2 separate regions of the Homo sapiens genome follow, and region 1 is linked to region 2. Evidence: promoter capture Hi-C in human tissues and cell types (Jung and others, 2019). All regions are on one chromosome and are shown on one strand. Each heading gives the region's core, a stretch centred on a gene start or on the middle of the fragment in contact. The rest is flanking DNA. Distances are from core to core; before and after follow the strand shown. Region 1 holds the start of SHROOM1 (shroom family member 1). Region 2 holds the start of KIF3A (kinesin family member 3A).

The links. The method cuts DNA at HindIII sites, captures the fragments that hold promoters and counts their contacts. A contact is called where the count stands out against the background at its distance.
Region 1: the fragment with the promoter of SHROOM1 here is called in contact with the fragment with the promoter of KIF3A in region 2 in 1 of the 25 tissues and cell types used here (hippocampus).

The regions. Positions count from the first base shown.
Region 1 is chr5:132,826,308-132,833,302 of GRCh38, forward strand. SHROOM1 (shroom family member 1) reads right to left here and starts at 4,340. Exons shown (of 10, transcript NM_001172700.2): 1 at 4,287-4,340; 2 at 1,154-1,300; 3 at 1-280. RefSeq lists silencers at 3,709-4,018, 4,229-4,648. The HindIII fragment of the contact is 17,651 bases long and covers 1-6,995 here.
Region 2 is chr5:132,732,753-132,739,520 of GRCh38, forward strand. It overlaps KIF3A (kinesin family member 3A), which reads right to left and starts at 4,794. Exons shown (of 19, transcript NM_001300791.2): 1 at 4,662-4,794; 2 at 1,453-1,726. The coding sequence starts at 4,667. RefSeq lists an enhancer at 4,099-4,198 and a silencer at 4,349-4,658. The HindIII fragment of the contact is 7,994 bases long and covers 3,266-6,768 here.

The sequences.
Region 1 (6,995 bases), core at 3,090-5,589, 93 kb after region 2:
GCTGGCATCCCCCAGATTTTGGCAGAGTCACCTTGGGATCAGAGGTGGCAGAGGAAGTAGGACCAGTCCCAGGGAGCACCTCTGAAGGTTGAGGGCCCAGCTCAGGGGAAGGAATTGGGACCAGCTCATTCCCTGCCAGGCTCCCCTTGCCCACACAAGCAGCCTTTACCCTGAGACCTCCTGGAACGCTGAGAATGTACCCATGTTCCTTTCCTCCCCAACCCTGTTCCACCCAGGCTGCTTCCTGGCCGTTCTGTTGGCTTCTCCATGTGATCTTTCCCTGATAAACAATGGTCAAGAACACTCTTGTGACCTCAGGGGAGCTAAGAAAGGAGGGGTGGGGGAAGACCCAGGGCAAGGGGCAGAGGCAGCTTCACAGCCTTCCTCCCTCCCTCTGTGCCTGTTATGTTCCAGGTGCTTTATATAAATATTTATTTTGATCGTTGCAACTGCTGTCTGCATTTTACAGACAAGGACAATGAGGTTCTGAGAGGGAAATGATTTGTCCAGGGCCACACAGCTGGGACGTGGCAGAAGCCTGCCTGGAATCCAGGCCTGCCTCCACGCTCACTGCAGCCAGAATCAATTTCCTAGAAGCAAGCCCTGCTGAAAGGCAGTTTACCATCCCTCCTGTTCCCCAACAGCCTGAATCCTCCAAGGAAGCCCACACTCCACTATGGGAAAGTCACCCCTACCTCCCCATACACTATTGGCAGATTCCAAAATAATCTGGCCCCCACTTCTCAAACTCTGCCTTTCGTCTAGGAATGATGGGCCGACCCCCATCTTTGCCCTGCTTCTATTCTTGCTTCTCCTGTAGGACTCAGCTTAGAGGTCTCCTCACTTTTTGGGACTCCTACAGTGTGCTGAGCTGACCCCCACCCCACACTGTCCCTGTTGGCTTGCTTCTGATTCCCTCCTCCCATTCCCACCCCTGAGCTTCCTGAGAATGGGCCCTGCTCTTCCTCATTGCTGCACTCTCAGTGCCCAGCAGAGTCCCTGGCATACAGTCAATGTTAAATATTTGGGCCGGGTGCAGTGGCTCACGCCTGTAATCCCAGCACTTTGGGAGGCCGAGGTGGGCGGATCACTAGGTAAAGAGATCAAGAGCATCCTGGCCAACATCGTGAAACCCCATCTCTACTAAAAATACCAAAAATTAGCTGGGCGTGGTGGCACACGCCTGTAGTCCCAGCTACTCGGGAGGCTGAGGCAGAAGAATCGCTTGAACCCGGGAGGCGGAAGTTGTAGTGAGCCGAGATCGCGCCACTGCACTCCAGCCTGGCGACAAAGTGAGGCTCTGTCTCAAAACAAAACAAAACAAAACAAAACAAAACAAAACCCCAAATATTTGCTGAATGTCAAGGGAAATAACAGATTTGCAGGGAGTAGATGTAGGGGTGGCCTTGGTAGAGAAGGAAGAGAGTTCCTTAGCTTCTGCGCACGCTTCTTCCCTCCCTATTAGTCTTTTCTGGGGAAGAGGACAGAATGGGTGAAGCACTTGCCACCATAGACACTGGCCAGGTTCCTCATGCAATATTAGGTACGAACAGAGCAGGCAAGCACAGCTTGGGGCAGGACTCACCAGAAATCAATCCCTTCTGGTCCTGGGAGGGGGATCAAGGGTAAGAGTTGAGTGGGTGTGCCTGGGTCAGGGTAAGAGAAATTTTGAGGCTTGGGAAAGGGCAGTGTTGAGGTTTGGGGCTCCCTATGAACTATGGAGACTTTTGGGCGCTGGCCTCCATTCTCTGAGCTGCTTGGTAGGGAGTGCAGAGTAGGGTGGCCCACGGCTAGGGTGAGGACCAAAAAGCAGGCTTATTTGAGCCTCCTAGACACTATCTGGAGCTCAGAGTCACCCTCCACCCACGTCCCTGAGGCCCAGGATGTTACAGATTGCTGGTTAGGGCAAGGATGGGGGTTAGTGGTAGGAGGATATGGTGTTTCCTAAAAGGGAAAGGCAGTACCTACAACATTCCCAGGAGAGGCTCTCAGCAGACCTAGGACCAGAACATCTTGATGTCACCCACCTGGGGGCATTTGTATATGCCTACTAAGCCCAGGAGCTTAGCCCTCACACTTAGGGTTGGGGACCTCTTTTGCAAAGTATTTCCACTCTAAACTTTAGGAGGACAAGAAACTACTCTGAGTAGCAGCTCCTGGGAGGACAGTCCCCTCATCTAGGAAGCCCACCCGACTGCTCAGACATTAGCCCTTTCTCTTCCTACTCTTTCTGAGTCCAGCTTGGGAGCACTAGCTCATGTCACCCATCCTGCCCATTTTGGCTTGCTGCAGCTACAGATGGGGATCACCAAACACAAGATGTTTCCTCAAAAGAGGTCTTGAAAATCTATGAAAATCTATCTTATTTGTGAGTTACTATGTTAAAGGATTCTGAATTCAGCAAATAAAAACAGCTTGAATGGGCAATAAAAATGTGTCTACACATGTGTTTCCTTATTGACTGTAACTTGTTGAAGATGCTTTTGCACTGGTGGCCCTATCAGGTTGATGTTCACGCAGGCTCCTCACAGTGGGTGCTTTGCAGAACCTACCATGCCAAGAGGGCCCAGCTGCTTTGGTGTGTTTTGGGGGGCCTCAGCACAAAACAACAAGGCATTTTCATACTTGTCTGGCTGCAGGGAGCCTCTTGCAGTCCAGCCAGCCCCTGTGGCTGGGGGTAGCCCTACCTTAGGGGTCCCTGCCTCAGTGGCAGTGGTACCTGTGGGCTGGGCTGTTATGCCTGTGCCGGCTGCTGAAAGGGAGTTCAGAGGTGGAGCTCAAGGAGCTCTGCAGGCATTTTGCCAAGCCTCTCCAGAGCAGAGGGAGCAACCTAGACTCCCCGCTAGAAAGACACCAGATTGGAGTCCTGGGAGGGGGAGTTGGGGTGGGCATTTGATGTATACTTGTCACCTGAATGAAGGAGCCAGAGAGGAAGGAGACGAAGATGAGATTGGCCTTCAAAGCTAGGGGTCTGGCAGGTGGAGGCACCAGTCTGAAAGGAGGAGCTGGGGCTGAGGAATTGTCAAGGGGGCCAGTGCTCCTTCAGTCTGGGCTTCATGGTGTCTGTGACAAGTCAGGCAGCAGTTGGGATGTGGCTCTGGAGTTCAGCAGGGGAGGGTAGACCAGGCAAGACCCAGGTTTTTAGTTAGAGGTTACTGGGGAAATAGCTGAAGACAGTTTCCGGTGGATAAAATCACACCAAGGCAATGGGAACAGATCCAAGTAAGGCGACCGAGGAGGCACAGGAGAACGGACAGCCTCAAATACAACGAATGATCAGGATTTACATCATACCTCCCTCAAGGCCACCTCACATCTGACCTCTCTGTGGAGGGGCTATCCAGGCCGCCCCTCCCAGCGGGTCTTCCCTCAGTACTGGGCTCACTGTGTAGGCGCTGTCTCCCTGTCAGACTGAGTTCCTGGGTACTGGACCACGTCTCAAAACCCAGTACCCGCAGCTGGGTCTGGCTAGGCGGACGTTCTGGGAAGTTCACCGGCTCTCCCTGTCCCCAGCGTCCCCCGTTCTCCCAGCCTGTCCGCGCTGACAGCGCACCCCACGCAGCATCCACGCTCCGAGTGTGCGACTGGTTTACGGGCTCATCGGTCGCTGCACCCCAGATGCAGAGTCTCTGGAGACCCGAGCTCCGTGCCATGCACAGGAAATGCAGGAAGCTGGCGACACCCGGGGAGAGGCGGCCGCGGGCGTGGACAGACCCGGTTACCTGGGGTTCAATCTCTGGGAGCCGAGGCACGGGAGGGAGAGAGGCGCAGGCCCCGGCGGCCGCAGGGGGCGGCAGAGACACGCGGAGCGGCTCGACAGCAGATGGCCGCAGCCCCGCGCAGTTCTGGGCCTTTCCCGTTGGGTTCACCGTCGGGGAAGGATCGCGCGCAGGGGACAGCGCGAGCCCGGGAGGGAAGGACCCGGCTTCTCCAGATGCTTGGCGACAAAGGGCAGGAGCGGAGGGTGGCGGAGTGAGACCGCGCTGCCCGCCGGCGCCACACGCGGCGCGCCCAGCCGCGCCCCTGAGCCGCGCCGCCAGCTTAGAGTGGGCCGCCTCTCCGCCCTGCAGCTCTGCAGCTGGGAGAGGCGCGCTGGGGTCCGACTCCACTGGCGCAACCTGACGCGGCGCCGAGCCAGACACGTCCCGGCCGAACGATGCCCGGGCTGCCCCGCGACCACCGCCTCGCCGCCCGCTCTTCACCCCCGTCCGCCCGCAGCCCCGCCGGCCTCCCGGGGGAAGCGGACCCAGCCGCCCGCTTCCCGCTCCCCCGCCCCCGCCGCGTACCTGAGGCTCCCGCCGAGACGCGCTCCTGGGCCGTCGCAGCCGCGCGGTGACATCAGAGCCCCGGGCTCTGACTCCGACCCCACCTCCAGGCTCCGGCCGCGGCCTCAGGGGAGGCGCCACGTCCGGCCGCGGGGGCGGGAGCCGCAGCCTCTTGGTAGCGTCCGCGCGCCGGCCCAGTCCCAGGTCTGAGGGTGGACAGTGCGTTCCCGCGCGGGCCACAGGCCTCTTGCCCCAGGCCGGAGAAACCTGAGCGAGGTGGTGGGAGGGCGACTACGGCGACCGCCCACCGGCCTCCAGCGCGTCCGTGATGCTCGGGGGCCGGGTCCCTCGGGGCCTGACACCTCCCTCGGTGGGGAGGTCCAGGGCGGGCCCTTAGGCGCCTGACGGCTACCCGCTTTCCCCCCCAAGCCCGGCCAAGAAAACAGAGCTGCCAGGGCCTCGTGCCTCCCACCTGTCCCGCTGAGTAACTCGGCCCTTGATCAACTCTACCCCCAGACCCCCATTTCCAAAACTCTTCCAGCTCTTTGACTCCCACCATGGGCTCTTGTCTCCTGTTCCCTGTCCCATTTCTTTCCATTTCTCCCACTACCCAGCATGGTCTGGGCCCTCCAGCCTGCTACCGGGGTGGGGGAGAGGGGGGCGGAGCACGGGGAAGCCCCTGGACTTGTGTGCACCTTAGCTGTCCTGAGTGTGTCCTTAGGGAGCTGGACATATGCATACCCACTAAGGCTGGACACTGGCGCTCGAGGCCCTCACCTTCCAGGATCTCCATTTTCCAAAGAACGCTCTGCCTGCACCTGCCACTGAGCTCTCCTTGCTGTGTCCTCAGGCTCCCCTGCCCCGACTTCCCAAACTCTGTCCTATGAATACCACTCTGCCAAGAAATGCTCCGTTCCTGAGAGGGGCTGGGGACCCTTTGATGAGCCTCTCCGGCTCTCAGGTCTCTGCCTTTGTCCTCCGCTGCCCTCCCGCTCCCACAGGATCAACAGGGCTGGGCTCAGGGGCTGTGTCCTCCCATGGTAGTATCCCTGGCAAATAAAGGTTTATTGGTGTTAATAACCAGGACTCTGAACTCTGGCCAAGAGTCAAGGTTGCCACTTCCTAGGGACACTGGGAGCCTGAGGAACTCTGTCTTCTTGGGTCTTCTTGGGTTCGGAGGCAGGAGACACCTGAGCCCGACTTCTGAGAGTGGTGCCCGCTGGGCCCTGCTCCTTCTTCAACACCATCTGGACTCAGGCACCAGCTTCAGCTGGAGCGCTAGGCTTTAAGACAGTGCCTAAGAACCTTTCGGCTTTGAAAGACTTTTGTTGTTTGTTTTGCTTTTTTGAGACAGAGTCTCCCTCTGTCGCCCAGGCTGGAGTGCAGTGGCCGGATCTCTGCTCACTGAAACCTGCGCCTCCCAGGTTCAAGCAATTTTCCCTGCCTCAGCCTCCCAAGTAGCTGGGATTACAGGCACCGGGCACCACGCCCAGCTAATTTTTGTATTTTTAGTAAAGACGGGGTTCGCCATGTTGGCCAGGCTGGTCTCAAACTCGTGACCTCAGGTGATCCACCCACCTTGGCCTCCCAAAGTGCTGGATTACAGGCATGAGCTACCGCACCCGGCCTGAAAGACTTTTAATATTTTTAAGACCCTGATCCACAGAGTCTCACAGCAGCATCAAAATAGAAGAAAGACAGCCCAGCAAACAACAACAAAAAATTTTTAATTGCTCATGTTGGCTGGGGCGGTGGCTCATGCCTGTAATCCCAGCACTTTGGGAGGCCAAGGTGGGCAGATTGCTTGAGCTCAGGAGTTCGAGACCAGCCTCGGCAACATGGCGAAGCCCTGTCTCTACAAAAATACAAAAAAAAATAGCTGGACGTGGTGGCACGCACCTGTAGTCCCAGCTACTTGGAAGGCCTAGGCACAAGAATCGCTTGAACCGAGGAGGCATAGGCTGCAGTCTGCCGAGATCACGCTACTTCATTCCAGCCTGGGCAACAGAGTGAGATTCTGTCTCAAAAAAAAAAAAAATGGTTATGTTTTTTACTTATATTTCTTGAAAACTATGGGGACACAGTGTCCAGAACAATTCTATTAACCCACTCCACCCACCTACCACTCACCTCTTGCACACACTACAGCACCTCTCTGCTAGGGACCATGAGGACGCAGTCCAGAGCGATTCTTATTAACCCACTCCACCCACCTACCACTCACCTCTTGCACACACTAAGCAACTCTCTGCTAGGGACCATGAGGATGCAGTCCAGAGCGATTCTTATTAACCCACTCCACCCACCTACCGCTCACCTCTTGCACACACTAAGCAACTCTCTGCCTAAGTCCCCAGAAAACTGAAATCCCACCTACCCACGTCTCTCTTAACCTCTTCTGTTCTGAGAAAGAGAAAAGTAACCCCTAACATCTGAAAGGCCCAGCTGGACCTTGGTGTTGCCAGAATTTGACCTGACATTCACAGCAAGGCCTTACTGTTGTCCCATTGGACATAAGCCATTTCACAGGGCATCAATGTGAGACAGGGCCGTTCTTTAACAATGATGGATCAAGACAAAAACAACAGCACTCTAATCATGTCTAACACATACAAAAGCATGAACATTGTCCAAGTCACAAAAATGACCTAGCTAATGAGTGCCTGCTGTCCTAGCTAATGTGAGTACCTGCTGCTTCTTTACCAATTGCAGCTTTAGCCTCACTCTAAT
Region 2 (6,768 bases), core at 3,544-6,043:
CAAAAAATTAGCTGGGTGTGTTGGCGGGCGCCTGTAGTCCCAGCTACTCAGGAGGCTGAGGCAGGAGAATCGCTTGAACCCAGGAGGCAGAAGTTGCAGTGAGCCAAGATCACGCCACTGCAATCCAGCCTGGGCGACAGAGCAAGACTCCGTCTCCAAAAAAAAAAAAAAAGTAATGAATTGCTGATATATGTTTATATGTTACAATAGGGATGAAGCTTGAAAACACTGTAAGTGAAAGAAGTTATTCACAAAAGGCCACATAGCATATAATTCCATTTATAGAAAATGTCCAGAATAGGCAAACTCATAGAATAGATATAGACAGTAAATTAGTAGTTGCTGGGTTGGGGGAAGGGAGGTGGTAATGGATTGGGAGTGACTGACTGCTAATGGATACAGGGTTTCTTTTTGGAGTGATAGAAATGTTCTGGAAACAGACAGCGGTGACAGCTGTACGACATTGTAAATGTACCTATGAACTATAAAGTGTAAAATGGTTAAAATCATAAATTTGATATTTGAATTTTATCACAAAAGCTACCTAAAGAAATCAATTTCATCTCTATATATTAGTAACACACAATCCAAAATTGAAATTATGAAAGCAATCCTATTCACAATAGCATCAAAAAAATACTTAGGAATAAATTAATCAAAACAAGTGCAATACTTGTACACTAAAAGCTACAAAATACAGATGAGAGAAATTAAGATATAAATAAATGGAGAGAAGCTGGACATGGTAGCTGACATGGGAAATCCCAGGGCTTTGAAAGGCCTCAGTAGGAGATTGCTTGAGCCTAGGAGTTCAAGACCTGACTGAGCAACACAGCAAGACCCAGTCTTTACAAAAACAAAAAAATGAGCCAGGTGTGGTGGCGCACAGCTGTAGTTCTCATTACTCAGGAGGCAGAAGTGAGAGGATAGCTTCAGCCCAGGTTCAAGGCTGCAGTAAGCTATGACTGCACCACTGCACTCCAGCCTGGGCAACAGAGCAAGACCCTGTCCATAATTCATTAATGTTTCAACGTTTTAAATGAAGAGAAGTATCATGTTCATGGACTGAAGACTCAATATTGTCAGAATGACAATTCAACACAATCCCTATGAAAATCCTAGCAGGATAAACTTCAAAAACATTATTTGATGTGAAAGAAAACAGATAAAAAAGGTGACATATTATATGACATCATTTATATGACATTTCAAGAAAAGGCAAAATTATAGTGACAGAAAGCAGATCAATAGTTGCTTGGGGGTGGGTCTGCAAATGGGCATAAAGGAAATTTTGAGGATGACAAGGGTGTTCTAAAGCTGGATTGTGATGATGGTTTCACAACTGTATATATTTACTACACTCATCAAACTGCACAGCTGCAATATGTGAATTTATGGCACAGTAATTATGTCTCAATAAGGGAGTTTTTTAAAAAGTAAAGATTCACTTACCATTGTAGCCTTCAAGTACAGAATCAATAATAGGTCTTGCAGTTAAGTTATAAACATCAAGTTGTTTACTCTCTGGTCCAAAAACAGTATCAAAAGTAAATGTCTTTGGAGGTTCATTGGAAGAATCAGTCTTATGTACAGTGATAGTTCCCCTCATCTCATCCACACTGACAGCCTGTTTGTAGCACATTGATTTCTCTCTCTCATTGAGGGGCCGGCACCTAACAACAACCTTCACATTATCGCAGCTTTCTGGCTTCTCTGATTTATTGATCTGTTGGAGATAATATTTACAAATAATGAAAAGAACATTAATTTTTACCCTCATCAGATTAAATTTATAAACTTTAAAAGGCTACTTTTCCAACTCAGTGCCTTGCACACATTAAACACTTCACAGGTATTTGTTAAATGCAATTAAAGATCTTACATATAGCTGAAAAGTTTATTAAAAGATACAAAAAGGAAAATCGTTTCTTTTAAAATGTAAAAGGGAGAGAAGAGCTAGTTCACATTTGTGGCAAAGGCTGTACAAGCAGAAACTGAACCAGTATATTATAGATCATCTTTTTGCACAAAAGTCTCTGACCCAGCGTTTCCTGCCTGTAGGAAAACACATGTGAACATGGTTAACAACTTTAACTCAAGAAAATAGTAGGTCCTTTGTTTCCCCTGAGACTTTAGTTTTATTTCCTATCACGCATCTGTAAAATGGTTTTTATCATGTAATATATCCATATATGGCTTATCTTCTCTACAGAAAACAATAATAAGATAAAGACAGAAATGAAAGTCTAATGGCAAAGAAAAATGCCTTAGTATTACCTAACCTTATAAGCATTTGTATATGTAAAGTTTCCATTTCTGAATTTTTTTTTTCTTATTTATGAGGCACAGTCTCACCCTGTCACCCAGGCTGGAGTGCAGTGGCGTGATCTCAGCTCACTGCAACCTCTGCCTCCCAGGCTCAAGCGATTCTGCTGCCTCAGCCTCCCCAGCAGCTAGGATTACAGGCGTCCATCACCATGCCCAGCTAATTTTTGTATTTTTAGTAGAGACGGAATTTCATCATGTTGGCCAGGCTGGTCTCGAACTCCTGACCGCAAGTGATCCACCCACCTCGGCCTCCCAAAGTGCTGAGATTACAGGCATGTGCCACCGCACCCCGTCATTTCTGAAATTTTATGATTAAGAAAATATAATGAAACACAATCCTATTATTGAAGTGAAAAGGACAGTTTAGTTGAACAGATACTTGTTAAATTCCTACTGTTTCAGATTCTCTTCTAAGCATTGAAGAGAAACAAATATGAGTCATTGTCATTGACTCTGACATTGTCACTGACAAGTAACAGATTATATCAGTACAATACACTTCTATCTATCTCTCATCCTATTCCTCTCATCTATTCATCACCCTAGTCTAAATCACCATCATCTTGGCCCTGGATTACTGCCTCCTAACTATACTCCTGAATCTAATCAGATTGCCCTACTGCCTATTCTCCAAATAGCAGTCAGTGTCAACACACATCTAATCATGTCACTCTCCTACTTAAAAATTCTTCAGTGGTTTCCCATAGATCTCAGAACAAAAACCAGAATCCTTAAGGTGGTCTGTAAGGTCTGGCTTCCACCCACGTCTGCTTCACTGGGCTTATTTCACAAGATATTCTGCCTGGCTCATCCATGCCACAGCCACACTGAGCTGCTTGGCCTTTTCTTGTCACCATGCTCCTCACCACTGGCCTTTCCATGTGCTGTTCCTTCTACCTAGAACCATCTTCAATCCCCTCTTCACTTAGTTAACATCTACTTATCCTTCAGAACTCAACAGCCACTTCACCTGGGAAGACTTCCTGACTAGGTCAAATACTCTTATAGGCTCAGAGAGCACCCTGCTCTCCCCTTCCTGGACACAAATTTTACTTTTGCTTGTTCCTTATTTGATTAATGTCTTTCTGTCTACACCAGAGGTTGCAAACAGGTAGTCAAGAGGCTGAATTCAGCCCACAAATTTCTTTTGTTTGGTTCATAGTATTTAAAGAGCTTTTGAATTAGTTGCTAAAATTGAGAAATTTCACAAAAATAATTTCTAAAGTCTCTTCTTGGGAGGAAAAAAAATGACCTGTTATCATCTGCAGACCATCATTCTTACATGGCAATACATTCCAATTCACCAGAATCTACTTCTCTCTATTGTAGGATACCCACCCACTTCATTATTAAGGTTTTGTGTCTTACGTCTGTAAATATGTATGATTTTCACCTCTGCCCAAGAAGGCAAGCCTCTCTCTTTCCAAGTTCAAGAACCTGACTGGTGTTGCTCAATGTTGTATCTTCAGGGCCTAGCATGTGGTTGGTGCCCAATATTTACTGAATTAAAACTTGAAAGCAGTGAACAGAACAAATATAGAGCATTTAATCTTAAATGTCAAGCACTGTCCTTCTAGTCTCCTGTGTATTATTTCACGCGGATAACAACCCCATGAGGTAAAGTTTACATGGGAACTAAGGACCCAGACAGATTAAATAATTATCCGAGGCCTCACAACCACTAAATAAGCGGCCATGGCTCAATTTTCCTCCATGACCCCTAATAAGGGGTCTTAGAAGGCCCCATTATTAAGTTCACGATAACAATCTGTGAAATCCTGGAAGATAAACATAACACCGCCACACACACAAAGACACCTACGGGTTTCATTCTGCATCATAAGCTAAAGCGCCACAAGAGCAATGACAGCTCAAGGCTAGGAGACTCGGAGTATGGGGCCTGGAATAGGGGCAGGCAGCCTTCGCTCCGCTGCCTCCCTGCGCTTGCTCCGAGGCGCAAAGGCCTCACCAGGTGTGCAGCATCCAAAGAGCCCCACCGTGGCCACCCCCAGACGCCCCGCTCAGCAGGAAGGGCTGCGAGCCAGAGCGCATCCTCCAGCACAGCGCCTTTTTGATAAGCGGCGCAGGCCCCACGGGATGCAGCAGCGACGAGGGCGGCAGGGCCTGACCCCAGGTCCCTGTCGAGGCCGGCCGGACCCCCGCGGCCCCGGGGCTGACCAGCCAGGCTCTCCAACCACCTCCACCGCACGACCGAGCCTGCCCCGCCCCACCCAGGCCGCCTGCCGGCTCCGCGCCTCCATGGCAACGGCCGCGCCCCCGGGCCAGGCCGCTAGGATGAGAAGAAACCCCAGAAGCGAAGCGACTCTCCTCACCGGCATCTTGGCCCCCTCCCGTGCCCGGCGGACGTCCCCGCCCGGGGTGCAGCCCAGCGACACCGGGTGCGCAGAAAGGATGGCCAGAGACTACCGAAACACCTCGTTGACGCTCTCGAGACTGCGGCTTCTCGGGCGAGAGCGCCCAGTGCGCAGCCGCATTCCGAGCTCGCCCCGCCCCAAGCCCAGTCTCAGGCTCTCTCGGCCCTTGAATTACGCCTGCGCGGAGGCTTTCCGAGTCCATCTCCTAGGACGCCAGACTGAGGCCGCGCGTGCGCAATGCTGCCATTCTGCTGCGCTAGAAATGTGGCACGCACTGAGGCGGAGGTAACCTGGCAGCCCGGGGTTGGGAGGAGGAGCTGCTCTTAGGCCCGTCTTCTGGCCCTTGCAATACCCGGAATATTAAAATCAGTAATAGCAATTGTACATTTTGTCTCATCCGAAGAATTGAAGACCTTACCTACCTGACCTCGCTTGATTGCTAACTTCCTCATGACCTGTCTTACCATTAGAAAGTGAGCTCTCTTAAGGAGATTGTTAGTATTCTCACATCTATCTCCAGAGCCCACACAGAGCCTGGCACAGAGTGGGATTTTTATACGTGTTGGTCAAAGAACCAGTGATCCGTCCATCCTCTTTCTAGTCCACTTGAATGTGTAATGGGCATTTCAAGTTAATCATGTCCAGAATTGAAATCTTGATCCCCCATCAATCGCCCCACTACCCACTCCACCCCCATCAAAAAATTTAAAAGGGCTCTCTCTCATCCCTCTCAGACTTTCTTCATCTCAATATGTGGGAGCTTAATTCCGACAACTGCTCAGGTCAAAATTGCAGTCTCTTTCATACACAATATTCTATCTTTAAATACAGCCTGTTGTATCTATCTTTGTAGTGGAACCAGAATTTGGCCACTTCTACCACCACCATCGTCTCTCACGTGCATTACTACAATCGCTCAGAACTGGTTTCCTTGATTGTGTGTCCTTGTCCCTTTTCAGTGTGCTGGACAGGAGCCAGAGTGCTGGTGCTAAAACATGAATCAGATCTTCTCTTTTCTCTGCTCAAAACCCTCCATTGATTTCCCATCTTACAAAGCTAAAGCCACAAGCCCTACAATCCTCCCTCTTGCTTCTTCTGCACCAGCCCCACCTGGCCTCCTTGCTTCATCCAACATTCCCGTCGTGCTTCCATCTTAGCATGCAAGGGCTGTGAGCTTGCAGTAGGAACTGATAGAAATAAAGATAAAGCATTTTACATAGTGCCAGTGTACTGTTCTACATGCTTTCGTTTTTTAATTCATTTAATCCACACAATAACCTTTTGAAATAGATACTATTTATTATTATTTTACAGATAAAGTAATTGAGGCACAGGACCATTAAATAACTTTTCCAAGGTCATACATATAAACAATGGCAGAGCCCAGGTCCAAACCCAGGCAGCCTAGACAGCTCTTTCCCTAAAAAACCACCTGACCACTCACCTCCTCCAGAAAGTCTTTGTTCACATAACCCCAGTGAACCCTAACATGATTTCCTTATTTAAAATTTCAACCTTCAGCCCAAACTCTTCTTTTTTTCCCTCCCCACTTTATATTTCTCCATAGTACCTATCACCATTCAATATTTTATATATACACACATACAAGCTTTACTGAGATATAATTTACACACCATACCATACAATCACCGATTTAAATTGTACAAGTCAATAGTTCTTACTATATATGGAGTTGTGCAACCATAACCTAGAACATTTTTATCATTCCAAAAAGACATTCTGTACTCATAAGCCACTCCCCCTTGCTCTCTGCAACCCTCCTCCCACCCCACTCCCAACATCCCAGACCTAGACAACCCACCAATCTACTTTCTATCTCTGTGGATTTGCCTATTCTGGACATTTCATATAAATGAAATTACACAATATGCAGCCTTTTGTGAGTAACTTCTTTCACTTACAAAGTTTTCAAGCTGTATCCCTATTATAGCATATATCAGCAATTTGTTACTTTTTATGGCTGAATAATATTCCATTGCATGGCTATAACATGTTTTTTTACCTATTTGTCATTGATGGATATTTGGGTTGTTTCTACTTTTTG